Regions from separate parts of the Homo sapiens genome. Here region 1 is linked to region 2. Evidence: promoter capture Hi-C in human tissues and cell types (Jung and others, 2019). All regions are on one chromosome and are shown on one strand. Each heading gives the region's core, a stretch centred on a gene start or on the middle of the fragment in contact. The rest is flanking DNA. Distances are from core to core; before and after follow the strand shown.

Region 1 (6,350 bases), core at 1,829-4,328, 45 kb after region 2:
TTTAATTTATATCCTTTCCAAAGGCTCAGATGTATCTGGCTTATTTTCATGTAAAGTGTATCTTGGCTATTATTCCAAGATAGCACATGCATGTCTACCCTATTCTTTTTAAAAACTATGTTTGGCCACATAGTATTCTATTGCATGGATGTGCATACTTTATTTTTTATCTATTTATTTTTTATTAAGATAAATATTTATTTTTAGGTTTTGATTACACATTTTAAGATTCTTTTGTTGACAAATACAAATTGTATATATTTATGGTGTACAAAGTAATGTTTATATATACACACACACACATTGTGGAATGATTAAATCAAGCTAATTAACATATCCATCACCTCACAAACATAATTTTTTTTTTTTGCGGTGAGAACATTTAAAATTTATGCTCTTAGCAATTTTTAAATAAATTTACATACTTTATTGAAAAAAATATCCTATGAACAACCTTATTTTCAGTTAAAAAACTTTTTTTCCTACTAAAGATAATACTACAGTGAGCATTCATACCGATGTATGAAGATAATTATTGGAGACATTCCTAAAGTTGATTGTTGCCTCTAAGCATTTTCATTTTTATAGTTATTGCCAAATTCTCCTTTAATGAAGTTGCTTCAATGTACTCTTTCACTAACAACATTTGAAAGTGCCTGGTTTCAGACTACATACTGTCAAACTTTTCAATCTTTGCAGACAAAATCATTCTTCTTCTATAAATAGGAAGCAAATAATCTTCCTTTTTTCATTCTTCTGCCACCATTAATTTTCTTGGTTTTAACACAGAATAAGATATTGAATTTTATAACTTATTAGAGTTAACCATAACTTTCAAATGTTGATGATGTAATCACTCCTTATAAGGGAGAACAAGGTGTTTCTCTGGGCCTGCTTTCAATTTCCATGCTTCGATCTCTCTTTGCTTTAACTCTGCCCACATGCTGGTATGTGGCAGTATTAATTAGGCATTCTGTTTTTTGAATCTCATGTAGAATGTTCATCCAATTCATTTATTACAAAATTAAAAAAAAAAGAATGAACACAGCCATTAGAGATGTTGCAAATAATTTGAGTTAAATGTAAATGTAGAAAGAAAATAGGGAAACTACTATTAAGCACACCTTACCCTCTGCAATGGAATACAATACAGATTTACAATGTCAATTATTTCCACCATGTATCTTTTTAAGAGTTGAGAGATTTGAAATATGAATATGTCAGGTATTTAAATACTAAGTTACCTAAAAATGTACTTTATTAAAATATCATTATGCATATTTTAAAGTTAAAACTCTGTGCTATGTAGATGTAGGGGTAAAATTCCCATTTATTGTCCACTGAATGTGAGGGAAATTGGATTTGTCAGGAAGCTGATTGATATCTGGAAGTGTTTTGTTTTCAGCGACTGGCACTGCCGAGTTACAACCATCTATCATCTAACAGGTAATTAGTCAGATTTCTCATCATGAGCCTTCAATCCTGCTGTTTTATTATTGAAATACCACAAACCAGCAGGCAATTTGAATGCAGATAAAGTTCTCTGTCATGGTCTTAAGGACAAAGACAACATTTTGCAATTCAGCAGTAGTGAGTTTGAATGAAAGTCACCGAAATGTAAGTGTGGGTCTTATAAAAAAATAAATATGAAAAATTTAATTTGATACTCCATTTGTCCTCCATAGTGACAACTGAGAAACTTGCTGTTTATAAAAGCAACCTAGTGTTCTAATATAAATTTGCTTTATTATAACATTTTACAATTTGAAAGTTAAGCGAAGAAACACATTGCATGGAAAATAAAGTTAGATAAAATAAAATAAATGAACTAGGTCTTGAATAGCTTTTATTCATTTTCCAAGGTATTTTGAGATGATGGATGAAAATAATTTATATTTAACAGTAGCTAAGAATATGAAAATTTTACTCCTCTTAGAATTATTTCTAATAAGAAAGTTTAGATATTAAAATAATTGGAAACTAAAGATGAATTATTTGTTTGCTTTTACACATGCTTTGTATTAGATAAGCTTGCTTCTGAAGTTGGGGCTAACACACTTTTGAGGCCTTCTTGTATGGTTTATGGATCTCAGACAGCTGATTTATGTTATTGGCATCCCAACAAGAATGGTAACTTCATAACACTGACTGTTATTTTCTTGACTTAATTCAAAATCATATATTATCTTTCTGAAAAATAGATCTCAGAATACTTCAGCTTTCCCAAAAGTCACAGGACACCATAGTCATTACCGCTTGATGAAGTATAAATATAATGTCTCTTTCTTCAAAATTTAGTGTCAGAATAAATACACTTACATGCTTTCTCAAACCTAAGTTAAATAATAATTTTCTTTAATCCAAACATATTAAATATGTAGCACATATACATTAAAATTAACCAGATCAAGCAGTATTTTAATTCAGTTGCTTAATTACATCTTCTGGTGAATAATAGGTTTTACCAGAAAAAAAATTTTAGACTACTTGAAAACGATGGTGTAATACATTTTTCTTACAGTATCTTTATTAAAGATACATCAATGTACACATATATCTTTGTATTTTTACAATAGCATTAACTTTGGTTCTACCATTAACATTTTATAAGATCTTTTCCTATGAAAACAAATACCAATTTACTGTAATCATGGTTACTTACAGTATCTAAATCCATTATTGTAAAAAGGCAAACCTGTGATAGGCATCACATGGAGAATAAAAAATTAAGAGACTAATTGTAATATTAAATAAGCAATCTTGTTATATAGATACATGTAATATTGCATGTTGCATGTATTGTTACTCAGAGTAGAAAGAACATGTGAGAAGTTTCCTAACTTGGATAAGAACATCACAAATTTCTATTCTCACACAAAATGCCAATTTACTAGTTCCCTGAAGATTTTACTTAGATAACTGTTATGCAACACCAAATAAACACAAGCTGAATTTCTGTTTATTAACACAATTTAAGTCTAATTCCAAGCTTTTACAGGCTTGGCCCATGGTACATAAGCGTACTGAGTTTTATTTCTGGTTTTACAAGAATGGAAATTTTAGATGTCTATATTGATCACTTGACTACACTGCAGTATATTAACAGTAGCGAATAATAACCAAGATTTGTTGAGTGGCAGGTGATACACTTAGCACTTTAGGCTTACTTGCTTAACTTCTCATGTGTGAGCTACTATTATTCTCATTTTTCAAGAAACACAAATTATTTTTTACACACACAGTTGTACTTTTGGGGGTATATGGGAGGCAATCTGGCATATTGGGAAAAAACCATGAATTTTGTTGCCAGAAAGACCTAGGTAAAAATATCTTTATTTCACCAGTTACTAAGAGGGTATGTCCTAGAGTGAATTTCTTGACCACTCTAAACCTTAGTTTTCACCTTTATAAAATGGGGATTGATGAGATCATCTTTTCCAGCTATTCTGTGTGTCTGGTGTATGCAGTTACTGGACAACATGCTCCCTTCCCATATGCCCCTATTTCTTCCCATCTGAAAGCTGCATAAGCTCTTCTGACTCATACTTCAGCAAGTTGAGACATAGCAATATAACAAGAAACTTTATCTGAGTTATTTGGCTTAATTTAACTGGGATAAGTTATAGTCAATAAATTCTTTAATCTCAGGTGTACTTTACTAAGTGAATTAGCTTATATTCATGAGTTTTTGGGAAGATTATCTAATAAACGAAGATTGTAACATACCTGCCTATAAGAATGATTGAAATGGTTGGTAGTATGTAACGATATATGTCTTCAATGCTTGGTCCTAGTATATTTGCCTTAGTATTTCTTAATAACTATATTCCTTAAAGTGTGTTCTGTGAATCAATAAAGTTAGAATCATCTGAGGTGCTGAATAAAAATTCAGATTTCTGGGCCCTACTCAGAATGGGAAGAGTAGACTGATTACCTCCGGGACATGGTGATTGAGTTGGGTTTTGAAAGATGTGTAGAATTTCACCCTGGAGACACAGGTGGTTGAGGGCAAAAAGGACCTTCCAAGCAAAAGGAACTGTAGATTAAAATATACAATTATGAGAGGTGAATTTTGAAGGAGTGCTTTTATATACTGTTCTTTGAAAATATAAGTTGTCGGCCGGGCGTTGTGGCTCGCGCCTGTAATCCCAGCACTTTGGGAGGCCAAGGCGGGTGGATCAGCTGACGTCAAGAGATCGAGACCATCTTGGCCAACATGGTGAAACCCTGTCTCTACTAAAAATACAAAAATTAGCTGGGCATGGTGGAGCGTGCCTGTTGTCCCAGCTATTCAGGAGGCTGAGGCAGGAGAATCACTTGAATAGGGGAGGTGGAGGTTGCAGTGAGCCAAGATCGCACCACTGCATTCCAGCCTGGTGATAGAGCGAGACTCCATCTCAAAAAAAAAAAAAAAAAAAAAAAAAAAGAAAGAAAGAAAAGAAAAAGAAAATATAAGTTTTTACAGACTTTTTGGAAGCTTAATGGGTAGTGTTACAATGAATTTGTACAAATATTCGACCCCGCCTTTCCACTTTTTGATATATATTCTAGGGAAACCCTCATATAGATGTATATGTTTTAGGAAACAATTTACATTTTTACTCATCAAGGGAATAATGGATGAATAACTTATAGTGCCTTGACTTACTTATTTTTCAAATATTTATTTATATTTATTATTATTGATATCTGTGAGTAGCTAGCATGTGTCAGGCACTCTTCTAGGCACTGAAGATAAAGCATTGAACTAAACAAAGAAAAACATCTGCCCTTGGGAGCTTACATTCTAGTAGGTGGGATATAGGCAAGAAACAAAATTTTAAAAAGTAAAGTACTAAGAAAAATGGTAATAAATATTATGGAGAAAAAGACAACAGGAAATGCAGAGTCAAGGTAGGGACATGTGAAAGGTGGTTTGCAATTTTAAATAGTATGATCAGGGAGGACTCAATCAGAAGGTAACCTTTGAACAAATCCCTAAAGGATGAGAGGGAAGCAATCTTGTGGATATTTGGAGAAAAAGCATCTACTTTTAGTTCAAGTAAGTGCAAAGATCCTGTGGTGAAAACATGCCTGGTGGTTTGTGGAACAGCAAGGAGGCCATCTAACTTAGTAAAGTGAGCAAAAAGGTAATTTTGCGGGTAAGGCTTGTAGGTGTTGTGAGGACTTTGGCTCTAACTTTGAATGAGGGGGAGCTATTGCAGAGTTTTGAGCAGAAGACTGATGTGTCTGCTTTATTATTATTATTTTAGATGGGGTCTTGTTTCATTGCCCAGGCTAGAGTACAGTGGAGTGATCATAGCTCACTGCAGCCTTGACCTCCCATGCTCAAGCCATCCTCCCACCTCAGCCTCCCAAGTAGCTGGAACTGAAGGCACACGCCACCACACCCAGCTAATTTTTAAGAATTTTTAGTAGAGATGGGGTCTCTCTACACTGCCCAGGCTGATCTTGAACTCTTGGGCCCATGGAATCCTCCTGCCTTGGATTCACAAAGTGTTGGGATTACAGGCATGAGCTACCATGCCCAGCTTTATGTTTTAATAGAATCATGTTGATGCTGTGTAGAGAACGCACTAAAGGGAGGGCACGGGTGGAAGCAGGGGAAGCAGTTGGGAGGCTATTGTAAATAACCAAGTAAGAATGATTGTAGCTGTGACCAGAGCTGTGAAGGTTGATGTGAAAAGAGCTTGGATGCTGGATGTACATATATGGAAGATAGGGCCACCAGTATTTCCTGACAGATAAATAGGATGTGGAAAGAGAGACAGAAAAAAGTAGGACAGAATTCCAAGGGCGTTAGCCTGATCAACAAGGAGAGCAAGTGAGTGGCTGGCTGGGAGGAAGGTCAGAAGTACAGATTTAGACATAGTGTGTCTGAGATGTCTATTAGACATCTTATTAGGATAGGCATTTTTATATGTGAGTCTGCAGTTCAGGGGAAAGGTCTGGACCAAAGACGTAATCCTGAGAACCGTTAGTGTGTGAATGGCATTTAAAGGCATGAGATAGACAAGATCTCCAGGGTTTCCAGATGAAGGAGATTCCTAGGGATTCCAGGATTTGTAGTAATATTTGGAAATTAAGAAGAATAAGGGACATGATAGCATCTTATAATACTAACTAGCCAACACATATAGATTTTATGTTGTATATCACACACTGTTCTAAAAGATTTTCATTTAAACCTTTCATACAAAACCCTATGAGAGAGATAATATTATCATTATTCCCATCTTCCAGATGAAAAAAACTGAGAGAGGAACTGGAGTGACTTGCCTGGGGTAACATAGGTGATAAAGGGGCAGAATTGGGGTTTAACTCTTGGCCATTTGTTCTCAACCACAGAC
Region 2 (6,169 bases), core at 3,518-6,017:
TGGAACTGAGTATGGAAGAAAATATACTTGGATATGCTTTAATTTCCAAGCAAGGATTCTACAAAACATCCTGTGACAAAAGCTTAGGAAACATTGCTTTTGGGTCTTCCAAAACAGTATTAAAGAATCAAAACAACTGAATTTACATAACAACTCATACCTCTCTTGAGACTTTTGCCATTAAATCATCCCCAGATAATATAGAGAGCCATTTCCTGGGTTGTCTATTTGACTTTGGTTAGGAAGGTTCCTTTGTCTACCAATGAGGGAACATCTTTGGAGGCAACCATCAGCTAGTGATATAGTTGAAATGAGGAAAACTAGACGCCTGGAAGGGAAAATACCACCCTAAATCATATGCTTATTCTAAATGGAATATTAAATTAAATTCTTCACAATGAAGGTATTCCTGACAGAGCAGCTGTCAGTCACTCCCTGTTCAGACACCACATTGTGGGAACCTCGTCACTACCACATTGCAGAAGGCTGGTATCCCTGGTAAAGATGATGTATATCATGTAAACCCCATCATCCAGATCAAAGTCTGCTTCTTTCATGGAAGCCAATACATGTCAAACCTCATTCCAATCAAATTGTCTGGAAATGAATTCAAGATGAATATGTCACAGAATAACGTGACAGTGGAATTGCAGAAGGTCAGGGGTGGTTGTTTCAATGAGAGAATCGTCAAATATTAATTCTGGAACGTCCAGATGAGTAGGCATTGAGGGGGATTAGCTGGCTGCTGGTGGGACGTTGTGTCATTGATTTGTGTGCAAATGTATTGAACACTAAGGAGTTCTAAGTTTCATTTGAACTCAAGAAACTCCCCCCAAACTCTCAACCCAACATAAACAAAAGACAAAACAAAACTTCCTACTTAAAAAAAAAAAAGAAGAAGAAGAAGAAAAGAAACCAGCAAACCAATATTCAAAGGAGGATTTTAACTTACTTGACTCTTTAAGAGTGTTTCGGTAAAGCCGTAATCGTTTCCTCATCACCAAGGATGTCTTGTATCTCATTTTCTGACTTTGAGCCTGTTTGGGAAGAAAAGAGTGACAGTCACTAGTTAAACAATTTTACACGTCTGTGTGGCAACATCCTGTGGTTTGAATGTATGAATGAAAGAAGGAGTTGATCTGAAGATCTTTCGGTCTTTCTTTGACCATTTTCAAATTTTGAAGCTAAAGAAAAGGATTTTGCCGGGAACAGCCCATATTGCAAAATGATATATCTTTGGTGATAAAAACATTGAAAAATTATAATTTCCCAGCTAGGCTTTTATTTGAAACTCCTTTGTTGTTTTTTGCAAGCAGAAGTAATCTCTCTTTTAGTCAGTGCTCAAAAATCTGTAGCTTCCCAAATTTGAATTAATTGCGTAAGAAACCTTATTATTTTTCAGAAGTTTATTAACTGAAATTTAGTGAGGTGTGGTGGGGAGAGCCTACTGAACTCTGAGAGGTTAGCAGCTAAAATTTGATTTATAACTGTTGGAACCAAGAGGAGAGGAATTTCTTTGCAGGTTTTCAAATCCTGTTCTGCCTGTGGTGGTGCAGAATTCCTTAGCCTCACATTTCCCATACCCCAGACCCATTTGGGATTCATCACCGGTTGACTTTTTAAAGTTAATATAAAATTTGTCAGGTTAAAAAGGTATAATTTTAATCGTTTGGTTCAAATCATCCACATTTCATAGTTGAGAAGGGTAGAAATAACACCTCCCATAAGATATACACATTACTCATCAGATTCACTTTGTGACTAAAGTTACCAAGCCATTGGCCGCCTTAAATACTTAAAGCCATCCTGAGGACCTCTGCATCTGTCAGGCAAGGCTGAGGCAGTTGAGCAGCCAGACAGAAGCATCTATCCGGCCCCCACCCTCAATTTGGCCTAGAAAGAAAAACAGTCATTGAAAAGGTCTCAGGCTGGACAAACACAGCAAGTCCTCTGTCAATGGGGATGTCTGCCCACAGAACAAGCAGTTGTTTAACTTGTTGAACCACAGGCCAAATCCAAGTGGGACTCTGTTATCTTAAACGGTATCCAGTTCTCTATGCACAAAGATCTCTCTCTCTCTCTCTCCCCCTCAACGTCCAACCAGAATTCCAACTGGCTTGGCGGCTTTTACCCTTCCATCTCCCCTCTTTTCTAGGTCCAGGCCTAGGAGGCAGGGGGGTAGACTCACCTTTTCCCAGAGGGTATTATTATTTTCAATTCTTTCTAACCAAAAGGCATTCTTCCCCAAAGGTAATAAGCTCCTTCCAGCACAAATCAGGAAAGAAAGGAGGCCTAACTTTGCATTCCTACAGAAGGGCGGCATGCTGGGCGTCCTCGCTCTGAAATTTCCTCATGGCAGGATGTCTGGCATGGAAAAGTCCTGGTTGGTTGGCAATAATAGAATTTACTCTTTTGCTTCTGGGGGAAATGGGTGTGAGGTTCCCTAGAGATCCCTGTCCACCCATAAGGCAGCCCCAACCCAACTTCTAAGAGGTCTGGATCACTTCTCTCCCAGGTCCTGTCAGCCTTTTGTGCACTACAGACCCATAGACATGCAAACAAATATTGCAGAGATTGGACTAGGGCAGGCAACAGGGACCTTAGGAGGCTCTCTGTAGCGTTTCCATCACACAGCCTACACAGGGAACTAGGGTAAACATCTCCTTTAGTTCAAACTCTGACACCACTTAGCAAACAAGCCAGTCATCTTGCTGAAAGAGAGGTGAGAGAATTTGGGAGCAATCCTGGGGCCCGTGGACCTGAGGTCCCAAACAACCACGGAATGTAGAAACTCAGTTTCGTTTTCCCCAAATGCTTGCTCCCCACATCAACCACGGCCTCCTAATTACCAGTCCATAGCACATCCTGGAGACTTTTTGGAATCTGCCCTCCTGGCCCCACCTTGAGAAGAGGAACGGGTGCCAGGGAGCTCCAGTGATTGATAGTGCCGGAGGAGAGCCAAGAAGGTGGGACAGTGGGTAGGTGCAAAAAGCACCATTTTTATTTGGGGGAGCCTCGGAAGCTGCAAATTGTGGGGCCGACCTAGCCGGCGCAGGACTACCCAAGGTCAGAGGTCAGCTGCAGCTAGAGACTTCAGTTCCCGAGCTGCTCCTTACTGACTAGCCGGCAGGCGCGGGAAAGGCATGCCCACCTCTCCGCTGCAACTTGTCCCTGGCGGGCGCAGAGCAAAAACCCTGAAAGCTGGCAGGGAGCTCTGAGCCAGAGAGGAAACTGGCCCCGGCCTTTGCCCGCTGCCTGATTTACTCATCTGCACCCTGCACCTTTCTGGCTCCCCTCCATTCGACCCTCAAGCGCCAGGAGTTTGCTGAGGCTGGGTTGTGCAGGGGCCTTTACTCATTCTCCTGTTCTCTAGAGGGAGAAGCTTGGGTTTCCCAGCTCGGGGCTGAAGTAAGTGTGGGCAGCATCCGGGTGCCCAGAATAGAGTTTGTATCAGTAGATCAGGCTGGGCATTTAGCCCTCCCTTTGAATCACCCCTCCCCCAACCTGCAGGCGGCTGAGACAGGAGAAAAAAGAGCAGCATGCAGTGGTGTGGGTCGCTGCGAGGACAATACTGTCGGAAAGCGGGGAAAACATGACCTTGGAATCCAAAGGGAGTTTCCTGAAGACGGTGACGGCCGAAGTGCAACCCTCCAAAAGCCCCTCCGCTTTCCTAAGACTTTGACATGGGCCATTCATCAACCCCAACTTTCAGATCCAACCTTTGAGCCAGTCCTAGCTTTCTTTCACAGCTCAGCTCTATTCCCTCCTCATTGGCCCCTAATTTCCAATGCCCCTGGGTCTAGGCTAGGGGCCAGAATCCTAGGAGCTGCGGCCTGCTCCCCAGAGAGCTAGTTGCTGCTCTTGTTCGCATTGGAGATAAAGAAAGCCAAGTCCCGAACCCACTGCTGGCCGCGCGCAGAGAGCAGATCCCAGCAGTCAGCTTCCTGAGGCAGGACCAGGGTGAGGGAGGGCAAGGAGCCGCCCTGAGGTGGACTCAGGCGGCATCTGCCGTCAGGTTGGGGCGGAGAAGTTCCATCGTCTTGCTGCCATCTGGGCTAACTTGGCGCTTTGACCCTGGAGAGGGGAAGCAGAGACTCTCCTAGCCACCCCCTTGGGGGCAGAGCAGAGATACCTCCTGTAAAGGCCCCCTCCCGGCACCCGCCTTGCTCATTTTTCGCGAGGGAAGCTCTGGGCCACGACTTCCATTCTTGTGCCCACGGTGGGGCACCCAGGCAATTCACAAGGAGAGAAGGGAAGGCAGGCAGGCAACAAACTGCTCCTGGTTCCTGTGCCAGTGGGAGCCCCATTTGTACCCCTTTTCCCTCCTCCTGGGAAGAAGGGATGGACTCATCCTCTGCGTTGCCCCTTTGCGGAAGGGCCCCCTCCTCCCCTTAGTGTCAGTGGGGTGGGGCCTTTATCCACGGTTGGGGGAGGGGGGTAGGATGAAGGAGGAGATGGGGCAGAAAGACTGGCTGGGCCTCTTCCCCCACTGGGGTTTGGGTGCCAGTGGTCCCCTTGAGGGTACTTGCTACCCGGTCGCTGGAGGTACAGTTCTCATCTGTCTGCCCCCTGGACTCACGCACTTACCCCACTCCACCTGTTGCCAGGATCGCCTCATTTCTGCACATCATTTCGGGGTGGCTGAGAGGGGACCACAAACCCCTCCAAGCCTCTCTTTTGTGGTTCCAGCGAGGCGGTCATCCTTCACTTCTCCTTTTCCAGCTTTCAGGAAGCAGTTAGGGAATGTATGATGAAGCAGAAATGAGCCGTCAGGATGATATTTTAATGGCTTATATGTCACGTTGGTGCATGTGGCTTTGAACTGGAGCCGTTCGCGTTTCCTGCAGAGAGCGCCGCAAATCCCACTTGATAACTTCTACAACCCACAACTTTTTTTTTTCTCACATTCACTCTTACCCTGTATATTTGGATGTGTTTCCTAAAAATACCCTCTTGTCAACGTCCCCGTTGGATTTTCCACGGACTGGAGAGGAGAAGACTGACTTTTCTTTTTTGAAGAATTATTTTCCCTCTCCCCCTCCCAACAGCTACCCTTCCCCCCTTAGGTCCCCTCCCTTGTTGTGTGTGTGTGTGTGCGCCCGCGTGTGTTTCCTGAAAGGCGGGCGAGGTGGGTTCAATATCTGTTCTCCCTAGTGAGAGGAATACAGCCTCTAGAGAAAACTTCTCCATACAGATGAGGTTTTCTAAACTCCAGGGGAAGCAGGATCCAACTTCCCCTTGTAGGTAAAAAGACTTAGTGCCTCCGATATATCTTTTTTTTTTCCAACCAAGTGTACAATAATTTTTAAAGATACCTCGGCCCTTTCTTTACCTCCACTCCTCATTCCATTCCACTCAAAGTTGGTGGGAAATGCTGGGCTGCTAGACTCAGACTTGTTGATGGGAACAGAACAATTAATTTTTTTTCCGAATTTATATTTCCCGGCACAAGCACAAATGCTCAGCCAGGTCCCTTCAGGCACCGGGAAATCATCCCGGATACCCAAGCCGACTTTTGAGCAAGCACAGCCCATGGAAAGGGCAGTCCCGCCGGCCAGCCCCAAGCGAGAATCTAGTTGGTGAGAAGACCAGAAAACCAGAAAGGCGAGGAGCGGCGGACGCTGACCCTGCCTTCCTCCAGCCCGTGCAGTCAGCGCTGGCGTCAGGGCAAAAAATATATTCATTTTCATTTTCCTCTCGCTGGGGCACGGTGAGTTTCCTAACCGGGCCGCCTATGAAAGGATGAGTTGAGGTTTCTTTGTTTGGAAAAAGAGTTTAGGGCTTTGATTCAGCTGCAAAGAAGCCAAATGAAGTTAGAAACAAAGGGTAAATTGAAGGATTCCGACTCTTGGCTTTTTGTGTTTTCCTTACTAGAAAATAATTAGACCTAATGAATATGCAGACGCTTCAGCTAAAGCCTCGGCCAGGACTGCTGGGTTTTAAACAGAGCTGCGGAGAAATGCAACCTTCGTCCCCACAACCCCCCGCATCCGCGTGCATTTTTTGAAATGCATAAATGTTGCTCGGCTTAATTGATTGAGTCACAGGGATTTTTTTTTCCTGCTTTTAAGTACCATACTCCCCTACCTTTCAACAATCATTTTAATATATAGTCAATGGCTCTTTGTGGAAGGGACAAAAAGAAACTACGCGCAGTTGTTGAATAGAC

Evidence for each region. Contacts are between HindIII fragments. The study calls those that stand out against the background at their distance.
Region 1: a contact is called between a fragment that was not itself captured here and the fragment with the promoter of ZIC4 in region 2, in 2 of the 25 tissues and cell types used here (ovary and pancreas).

What each region holds. Positions count from the first base shown.
Region 1 is chr3:147,448,426-147,454,775 of GRCh38, forward strand. All of the region lies in intron 1 of LOC440982 (a long non-coding RNA gene), which reads left to right. Among named protein-coding and RNA genes, the nearest start is that of ZIC1, 42 kb to the left of the region's middle. The HindIII fragment of the contact is 4,689 bases long and covers 735-5,423 here.
Region 2 is chr3:147,401,776-147,407,944 of GRCh38, forward strand. It overlaps ZIC4 (Zic family zinc finger 4), which reads right to left and starts at 4,768. Exons shown (of 5, transcript NM_032153.6): 1 at 4,588-4,768; 2 at 953-1,037. The coding sequence starts at 1,022. RefSeq lists an enhancer at 5,584-6,169. The HindIII fragment of the contact is 11,475 bases long and covers 1,733-6,169 here.